Linked DNA regions of Homo sapiens: region 1 is linked to region 2. Evidence: promoter capture Hi-C in human tissues and cell types (Jung and others, 2019). All regions are on one chromosome and are shown on one strand. Each heading gives the region's core, a stretch centred on a gene start or on the middle of the fragment in contact. The rest is flanking DNA. Distances are from core to core; before and after follow the strand shown. Region 1 overlaps TDP1 (tyrosyl-DNA phosphodiesterase 1). Region 2 holds the start of TTC7B (tetratricopeptide repeat domain 7B).

Region 1 (4,755 bases), core at 120-2,619, 850 kb after region 2:
GGACACTTTCGTCCCTTTAGTTACTGAGAGTCCAGTGGATACTGTATTAGTGTGCCAGGGCCTCCAAAACAAAGCACCACAAACTGGGAGGCTTAGACAACAGCAATATATTGTCTCACAGGTCTGGAGGCGAGAAGTCCAAGATCAAGGTGCTGGCAGGATTGGTTCCTGAGGCTGTGAGGCACATCTGTTCCAAGCCTCTCTCCCAGCTTCTAGGAGCTTGGCTTGTAAATGGCGTTCTGTGTCTTTACATGGTCTTATCTCTGTCTCTGCACCCAAATTTCTCTTTTTATAAGGACACTAGTCATACTGGATTAATGTCCATCCTAATGCCTTCATTTTATCTTGATTACCTTTGTAAGGGCTCTATCTCCAAATAAGATCACATTCTGAGGTACTGAGGCTTAGGATTCCAACAGATCTTTTTTGGGGGTGAGATAATTTAACTCATAACAGATACAAAGGAACTGCAGTCTGCACTTTGCCAACACTCTAATGGGGTGACAGTTTGATTTCAAGGTCTTTAAGAAAAGGGAGGAAGAACAGAAAATGCCAATGTGACACCCAAGGATACTACTGCGAGGAGGAGCCAAGGCAGAAACTGCTTGTTGCCTCCAGACAGCCATTCTCTCCTCCTTCCCTAACAAAAGGCTAATTCAGGAAAAGGTGTGCTAAGCTAAAAGACATTTCTAGCCTCTTTTACAGCTGGTTAGCATGCAGCTGAGCTCTGCTCAATGAAATAGATGCAGGTGTTGTGTGGGACTTCCAGGAAGGCTGCTTAGATGGGCATAGCTAGAATGTGGGCCTTTTTGTCCTTTTCCTCCTTTCCCCTTCCTGCTACCTGGAATAGATGAGTAAGCTGGAGCTCTAGCTGCCATACTGGGCCACGAGGTGACTCTGAAAACTGAAGTCACATACAAGGATGGTGGAACAGAAAGGGTAGGTGGATAAGTCTCTGAGAACCCTGGTGCCCCCATCTAGACCATAAATGTTTACCATCTGAATGTGTCACGCTGGAAACAATTTGTCTTATTTAAGCCATTGTTATTTTGAATATTCTTTTACATGCAGCTAAAACTAATTCTGTGTGTTACAGGTCAAAAAAAAAAAAAAAAGCCCCAAGTGCCAAAGCTGCTTGAAAAATTTTAACAGCATTTTATCTACTGTTAATGTCAAAGGTTTCCACAATCTGATGCCCTAAATGTACCAAGAATTTTGAGGACCCTGACAATCATTATTTCTTGTGTGTTTTCCTCCATCCTACTTGCTGTTATGGGAATCTGCCCCGTAAATGTGTTAGAAATAGGGAAGGGTGGCACCTGTGTGATGCCCTATTTGGTCTGTATTGCCTAACATGAGGCTGATGAAGTGCAGGCAGAAGGCCTAAAAATCCATCACCTCCAGAGCCTAGATAAGGGAAGGCCACAGATAAGCCTCCTTTCCTCATCTCAGAAACACAAAGGGATCCTCAAAACAGAACAGAATTGATGTGCTACGGAAAGCATGGCACGTTGGCGGCATGTTGGCACATTCACAGATCTAGAAGGTATGTGGAGATGGTATTTTCCTTCATATTAAGACTGGACATGAAATTCTGTTATTTGAGTTAAAGCCTGTCCTTATCTACTTCCTGAAAGAGCACAGAGGAAAATGCTAAAATCCGTAAAAAGAATGTGTAGGATTAAATAGATCAAAGAATGCTGTTTTCCGGATATAACTTAATGTCTGTGTGATTTCAACAGTTTCAAAAGAAAAACTCAAAAGATGAGTGGCTTTCACCTGAGAAATACAAATCTTAGGTGTCAAAGCCCCTTTACAGTTTATAGTGTTGTCTGTCACCCTGAGGAACTCACCTGAACTCTGGTGGATACTGTTTTACGAGCCAGTCCACGTCAAAGCAGTAGTTAAACTAGATGGGAGAAAAGAAGAGTAACTAAGCCATAGGTAATTCTGCCAAACAGTTCATAAGGAGAATTGTTTAGTTATTACATTTAAGGAAACTCTAAAATAGTGATACACTACATGTATTATTTATAAACCTGGAGGGTTATGCTGCAATACTAACAAACCTATAATTTATCTTAAATGCATGGTTAAAAGAACCTAAATGGAGCCAAGTACATGAGATAACAGGTTCCCAGGAAATTATCTCTGCATGTTTTGGCAGCATCTGTACTTGTCCGCAGGGTGTTATTACATTATGTCTAATGGCCCTGAGATTAATTTAAATAAAAGGATTTATAAATTTATCCCTTTTCCCCTAGGTGATTATAAAAAGACAGATACTGGAGACAAAGATCCCAGGACTTTCAGAAAAGAACATTTCCTTTCAGGCTAACTTATTAGCTAGCTTTGTACACAGCCACCTGGGACCAGACATTCACTAGGCTTCTAACAATTACATCTTAAATGCAAGTTCTGTACTGGTCTTACCCGTGGAGGCTCCTCCCCATACCTGGGTAATCCTGGACTTAGTAACTCAGTCGAGCTAACAGGGCATTTGCAAATGCTCCCCACCTTCCAAATGGAAACCAGGACTTTCAATGCCAAACCAAACATAAAGGAAGCCTGCCTTTCTTCAGGGACAGGGCCCTTTGGACCACTTACTTGTGGGTCTGGACCATTACATGATTTATCAAGACAAAGGGACTAGCTCAGTCAGGAAGGAGCCACTGAACATGAAAATTCACATTTTTCTAAATTAAATCAAACTTGACTTGGCCTTCACCACTCTATCCATACCTCACCACTCTATGCACCAGAGTTAACTCAGTCCCATGAGTTAATCAGTATCCCCAAAAGAAGTGTCCCATTCTAGTCTTTCAAGCTGGAATGTCCAAAGTGACTTCTTGGCCAGCGGAGGCTGACTTGAGTCAAATGCTCTCCTGATAGTGACATCCCCATTCTATGTTGATGGCCATGGATCTCATTACTGTGGCACTTGAGCCAGCCTCCAGGTATGTGCCATCTCAGTCTTTGAACAGGACTGAGATCCCCAAACTATGCCTCTCATATTTTCTTATGGAGTTGTTTAATTACCTGTCTACTTTCACCCAAAGAAAAAACAGCTTAAAGGTATACTCACCTGAGCTGAAGAAACAAGCGTCCCAAATAAAGGAGATAAAATATCTGAGAAGACAAAACATATATCAAATTCACACTCACAAAAATCCTCTAGTCATAATAATCACTACTAACTCATTCAACAGTCACTGACAATCAAGATCTGACTCAGAACACAGTAAGCTAAACAGTTACTACAAAGTCAGACTTTAATGTTTCATAAAATTCAAAAAAAATTTCCCTATGGTATTTAATATTTATCATACATTCTTTTATAAAACAATGCAAAACCAAAATCTACAACTTCAGTACTGAATGATTGATCAAGTTTAGAAACTCAATATGGACAATAATGATACATATTCTTTTCAGATCTCTGAACTTCTACCTCCTCCAAGTACCCATTCAAGTCCCTCTCCAGGAAATCTCCCAACTCAAGACTAGAAAAACTTTCTAGAAAGATTTTATAAATGTGGACAGTTTAGAAAGACTTTCCAGAAAGACTGGAAAGCACCTGTGGCCTGTGAATGAAAGGACAGAGGCACTCACAATTATCAACTCACATTCCTGGTGTTCCTGGTCATCTCTAGGGAAGTCTCACTTTGTACCCATTCAAGCTTTATGTTAGGTAAGTTGAAAGCTCACTTCTCAAACCATACCACGAGAGCAAGTACACCATCATCGTGACCTTCCATTACAACAGCCACATCTGTGGAGACCTGTTAGATGCCAGGCAGCACTCTTGGCACTTCCCATCCATTACTTACTCCTCATATCCATTTTCTAGGTGGGGTCTGTTATTTCTATTTTATATCGGAGGAGCCTTCTTAGGAGGCTGCCCACAGACACACAGCTAGAAAGGGGTACAGTCGGGGTTTGAACCTAGGCTGTCTGGCTCCAGCACCTTCGCTCATACCCACTAAACTGCCTCTGAGAATTAAGACTGGCTCATTCATTTGGCAAATATTTCCTGAGTGCTTCCTATCTTCTGGACATTGAGCTAGATGCTGGGGTAGAACGATTTTCAGAGAACAACAACAAAAAAATTGTTAAGGAAGGTTCTACCTTATTGGGAGAGTTGCAGAGATAAACTGCAAATATTCTTCCATTTGCCCCCACCAGCATGTATTTCTTCCCTTCTAAATTTTACCCATCTTTCAAAGGCCTTTTGAAGTCCCCCTTCCTCCATGAGATCTTCTAAGCCATCTACAATTATGGCACATGGTAGAGTGCTATAGCAAACAGCATGGATTCTGATGCCAGAATGTCATTACCAGCTCTACGACCTTGGGCACTTTTCTAAAGTGCAGATGCATCATTTATCCAAGGAATACGATTGTAACATCTACTCATAAGACTGTCCTGAGGATTAAAGGAGAAAATATATGTAAGAGCTCCTATCATGTTACCACAATACCTTGGTGCTAATTGCCGGTTATTTTATTATATAGAGCAAAACTTGGCAAAATTCTCTAAATATTTGTCAGTCTGTCTCAAACAAACAAAAAACTTGACAAAGTACCAAGATAAGAGATTCTCAAAAAGAAAACAACCTGTAGAACACTCTACAGTATGAAATACTCCAACATGTATACATCACACACAATATACAATTATATACTGGATATATAAAAAAAGAACAACACTGCTGACAGTGAACATTACTATTCTTAAATATGGGACAGGAAAAAA
Region 2 (4,884 bases), core at 2,296-4,795:
TCACTTGTACCTCTCTAGGGTTGCTGTGGCAGCTGCCAGAGTGGCCCGGGCCATGGATGAGGGCCAGGATATGGAAAGCAGAGGCAGAAATGAGCCCAGAGGCCACAGGGCCCAGCTCTCAGGCTCCCACGGTGAAGCCCAGAGGGTTCCTTCTCTCTCCTGCTTCAGGCTGACAATGTTTGTCAGCCTCTGCTCCCAACCCCTATACCCAGCAACCTCTGCGCCCAAGCACATGGTCTGAAGAATATTCTGGTGTTGGGCCCCTGTAGGTGGCCTGCCGTGACGGTGGAAGCCTGGAACGTAGTGACATGGATTCATCATTGGGATGTTTCATCCTAAGGAAACGCACTCGCAGGTGGCTGTAGACCTTGGGGACTCCAGCCTCGTTCATTTAAGCTCCCACAATGTTCCAGGCCCTATGCGGCTTGCAAGGGGCAGAGAGACACAGAATGACAGCCGACATGGCACTCTATTGGTGCACTGGCACTGTTTTTTTTTTTGAGATGGAGTCTTGCTCTGTCACCCAGGCTGGAGTGCAGTGGCATGATGGAGATGCAACCTCTACCTCATGGGTTCAAGCGATTCTCCTGCCTCAGCCTCCCGAGTAGCTGGGACTACAGGTGCCCACCACCATGCCCGGCTAATTTTTTTGTATTTTTAGTAGAGACAGGGTTTCACCATGTTAGCCAGAAAGGTCTCGATCTTCTGACCTCGTGATCCACCCAAACTGCTGGGATTACAGGCGTGAGCCACAGAGCCTGGCATGCTGGCACTGTTCTCTGTGCCCTACCTGTATTTCCTCATTTCCTCCTCAACGAGCTCCAGGGGGAGGTATCACAGCCAAGAAATGGAGGCCTGGGGATGTTAAATGCCATGGCCCAGGCAGCATCCGTCCTCATGAAGCCACCTTATCAGGTAGGGAGGCAGACAGGTGGCCCTCATCATTTACCTTCCAGTGTGGCAACTGAGGCAGTGTATGCGTTAGTCATGATTAAGACCCTGCCCCTTCCCAGAGGGAGATGGCAAGTGCTGTCACACAAGGTCTGTCAGATGTTGAGCAAGGCTGCCCAGTAACCTTTGGCCCGTGTCTGAAAGAAGGCACAGGAATCTGTCTCCTGGTCCAGATGGAGAACATTCCCAGCAAATCTGGAGAGGCAGACTGGAGTTGGGAGAACAGGAGGGTGTCAGGAGAGAGGAAACATCTCCTGTGGAGATTTCTTCTCCTTCCCTTCCTGCTCCCTCTTGGTGGGAGCTAAGGGCCAGGGCACTAAAGGGTCCCCTGTTGAAACTCTAACGTTCTAGTTCCCCTTTCCCTGGGCTGTTCACAGTGTCCAGGGCCTGTCAGCTCAACTTCCATCACCTTGGCAGTCCCTGAGGCACCTGAAAGTGATACTGGTCACATCAGAACACATCTCCTTATCTTTCCTCCTCACCTCTCTTAAATGTCTGTGATTCAGCCTCCTCATTGGTAAACTGAGGTCCACAGTGTGTGTTCTTCATCAACTCCGGTGGTGGGGGAGTTGTGGTGGGGATAAGAACCTGCGTGTGACTGCTCTTGGAAAGTTGGAGTAAGGGCACCCAGAAGGAATGACGACGACCCCTCAGTGCCTCCTTGTGACTGCGGGCGGGCTACGGAACCTTCCAGACTGACCGCTTCACTCTCAAATGCAGGACCCAGAATCCAACACTGCCACCACCACAGCTATTTCCCTGGCAGTATTCTCAACACTGCAGTCACAGTGATAGTCCAAAGTGTAGGTCTGATCATGCCACTCTTCCGTGAAAAGCCCTGCAGGGCTGCTCCATGTCACCAGAGTAAAAGTCAAAGTTTTTTTTTTTTTTTTTGAGACGGAGTCTCTCTCTGTTGCCCAGGCTGGAGTGCAGTGCTGCCATCTCAGCTCACTGCAAACTCCGCCTCCCGGGTTCACACCATTCTCCTGCCTCAGCCTCCCCAGCAGCTGGGACTACAGGCGCCTGCCACCACGCCCGGCTAATTTTTAAAAATATTTTTAGTAGAGACGGGTTTCACCATGTTAGCTAGGACGGTCTCGATCTTCTGACCTCGTGATCCGCCCACCTCGGCCTCCCAAAGTGCTGGGATTACAGGCGTGAGCCACCGTGCCCAGCCAAAAGCCAAGGTCTTATAATGGCCCACCAGGCACTACACAGAACTCCCCCCAACCTCTCAGAGTTCATCTCCTGCCTCGGCCCCTCTCCTTCGCTCCACCCAGCCCCTCTGGCCTCTGCCATTTCTCCATCCCACCCAGTGTGCTCTAACCCCAGAGCCTTCGCACTTGTGGTGTTCTCTGCCTGGGATACTCCTCCCCCAGAGATATCCTCATGGCTCCCCCTTAGTTTCTTCAAGTCTAATGCCACCTCCGTGAGGCCATCCCTGACTGCTCCATTTTAAATGGCAACACTTGCTCAGGCTGAAGTGCGTTCACTGCTCACTGCAGCCTCCACCTTCTGGGCTCAAGCAATCATCCTGCCTCAGCCTCCTGAGTAGCTGGGATTACAGGCATGAGCCACCCGCCTGTCCCAACTCTTTATGTTCCTCACTGAACCCTTCCCTGTTTCTTCAAATAGCCATTTTTACAGTCTAGTTTACTATTTTATTTTGCTTATTTTTCCCCCAAACTGGAATGTAAGCTCTCTCAAGCCAGGAATTTTGTTTTTTTAGCTCACAATTCTATCTCTGGCACCTAAAGCAGCGCCCAGCACATAGTAGGTGATCACTAGACAGTTGATTCACTGAGAGAACACAGAGGGACACCTCCCTAGGTCTCAGTCTAGGTGGCCAAGACAGGAGGCCCCACCAGTGACTGTGCCTTCCCCTCAGGGGGTCCGAGAGCTGGCGTGTGAGAGTGGCAGCCCCTGCCTGGCTCCGCTCAGCCATCTAGGGCACCCCTGGCAGGTGCTGTGCCTTGCCTGGGATGGAGGAGTCTCCGTCCACCTCTGGCTGGGTAGGGGCTAAGGCTGCGGGGCAGAGGGGCATCTGCTAAGGGGCACAGGCCAACCGGGCCCCAGGGAACCGCTGGCCACCTGAGATGGCAGGACAAACTCGGGCAGGCCTCCCCCCACCCCTCACACCTGGCTCACTGGTCCCACCGGGCGGTGACCTTCCCCAGGGTCACTGCCCTTTCTTGGCCCTACTCCTGGGGATCCAACCCGCTCCCAGGCTGTCGCTAGCTCCCTCCCGATCCTCTCCCTCCCCTTCATCCTGCCCAGACCCCTACCCCACCAGACCCCTCACCCGCCCTTGGTCAGATCTCTCTCCTACCCCGCTCCCCCACCCCCATCCCCACTTCCCCTCGGTCTTCACCCCGCCCCAGACACCCCCAGTCCCTCTCCCTGTCCTCCATGCCCACCCCGCCTTTCCTCCCTCGGGCCCCTGTCTCCCGCCCTAGCCCCCGCCCCTGCCCCAGCCCTGGCTCCGGCCCCGGTCAGTGCTGCGGCTCCGGCCCTGGCCGGCAGGGGCCGCTCCTCGCGGCGCCCGGGGCCCCGCCGCGCCCGCCGCCGCCGCCCGCCTCCCCGCCCCTTCCCCAGCCGGCGCTCCCGTTACGCCGCGGAGCCGGGAGCCGGAGCCCGAGCCCGCGGCGGCGGCGGGAGGCGGCGAGGGGGCGCCGCGGCGGCGGCGGTGGGGCCTGCGGGGCGGGCGGCCGGGCCCGGCCAGGCCGCGATGGCGACCAAGAAGGCAGGCTCGCGGCTGGAGACGGAGATCGAGCGCTGCCGCTCCGAGTGCCAGTGGGAGCGGATCCCTGAGCTCGTCAAGCAGCTGTCGGCCAAGCTCATCGCCAACGGTACGCTCCGGGCGCGCCGGCCTGGGCTGCGGGGGGCGCCGCGGCCTCCGCGGGAACGGGCCCCCGAGGCGCGGCCGGGCGCGGGGCGCGGGCAGGGGCGCGGCCGGGCCGCGAGGGAGCTGCGGCCCAGGGGATGTGCGCGGGACCGGGGCCTGGGGGAGCCCGGGTGCCCCGGAGTCACGCGGTGTGGGGGCCCGGGGGGGCGCCAGGGGCTGTCCCGGCGCCTGGGGTTCAAGCGTGCAGGGCGGGCTTCTGCGGAGTCTGGGGTGTCCGGGGGTCTCAGCGAGTCCGCTGCTCCACTGGGACCACAGGAGGTCAGGGGCCGGCCTGGGGCTTCCAAGAAGTTGGAGGTGATGGGGTGAGGGGGTCCCTCAGGACATGGGTGAAGTCCACAGTGTGTGTATGGTGTGCTCAGGGAATCAGGATGTGTTTATGGGGTCTTGAGAATGGGGTGTTGTACATAGACCCCTGGGGAATCTGGTTTGTAAACATATGGTGTTTAAGGGGTTCTGGGTGGAAGCGCAGACTCGAGGTGTGTGGGGTGGTGGTAGAAAGCAGGCTGGGATGTGCGTCCTGGCGTTCGGAGAAGTAGCATCAAGGCTGCCGACCTAGAGAGGTCAGGGTTGGGAATAGAGGAGAAATAGAGTCAGGGGGACCTGGAGGGAGAATATTGTGGAGCGAGATGGGAATGTGGTTGAAGAATGTCGGGAGATGGAGTTGGGTGGGTGAGGGGTTGGTGCCTGGGCCAGAAGGGGGTCTGAGGCAGCCTCTGAGTAGGAGCCTGGTGCCTGGAGTTGGTTCATGACCCCTTTAACTGGATTGGTTCTTGTACCCAATCAAATAAAATTGCATCCAGAATCCCATTCCAGTGCACAGCTCCACGTGGCCTTATTTGTTTTGGAAGCGAGTATCTTTAATATTTGCTTGTCTTTTAGTACCCGCCTAAAGCGCAGGCACCAGCACACCGTGGCCAGAGGGCAGAGGGTTTGTCTCATTTCATCCTGGGCTTCCCCAGGCCCAGTGAGCACATGTTGGCTGAACAAATGAATGAAAGAGTGAATGAATGGATGGCGGGGCTGCTCTA

The links. Contacts are between HindIII fragments. The study calls those that stand out against the background at their distance.
Region 1: a contact is called between a fragment that was not itself captured here and the fragment with the promoter of TTC7B in region 2, in 1 of the 25 tissues and cell types used here (dorsolateral prefrontal cortex).

The regions. Positions count from the first base shown.
Region 1 is chr14:89,964,521-89,969,275 of GRCh38, reverse strand. TDP1 (tyrosyl-DNA phosphodiesterase 1) reads right to left here. Exons shown (of 17, transcript NM_018319.4): 4 at 3,086-3,129; 5 at 1,854-1,909. Among named protein-coding and RNA genes, the nearest start is that of TDP1, 11 kb to the right of the region's middle. The HindIII fragment of the contact is 9,557 bases long and covers 1-4,755 here.
Region 2 is chr14:90,815,091-90,819,974 of GRCh38, reverse strand. It overlaps TTC7B (tetratricopeptide repeat domain 7B), which reads left to right and starts at 3,545. Exons shown (of 20, transcript NM_001010854.2): 1 at 3,545-3,800. The coding sequence starts at 3,680. RefSeq lists a silencer at 3,372-3,551. The HindIII fragment of the contact is 18,929 bases long and covers 1-4,884 here.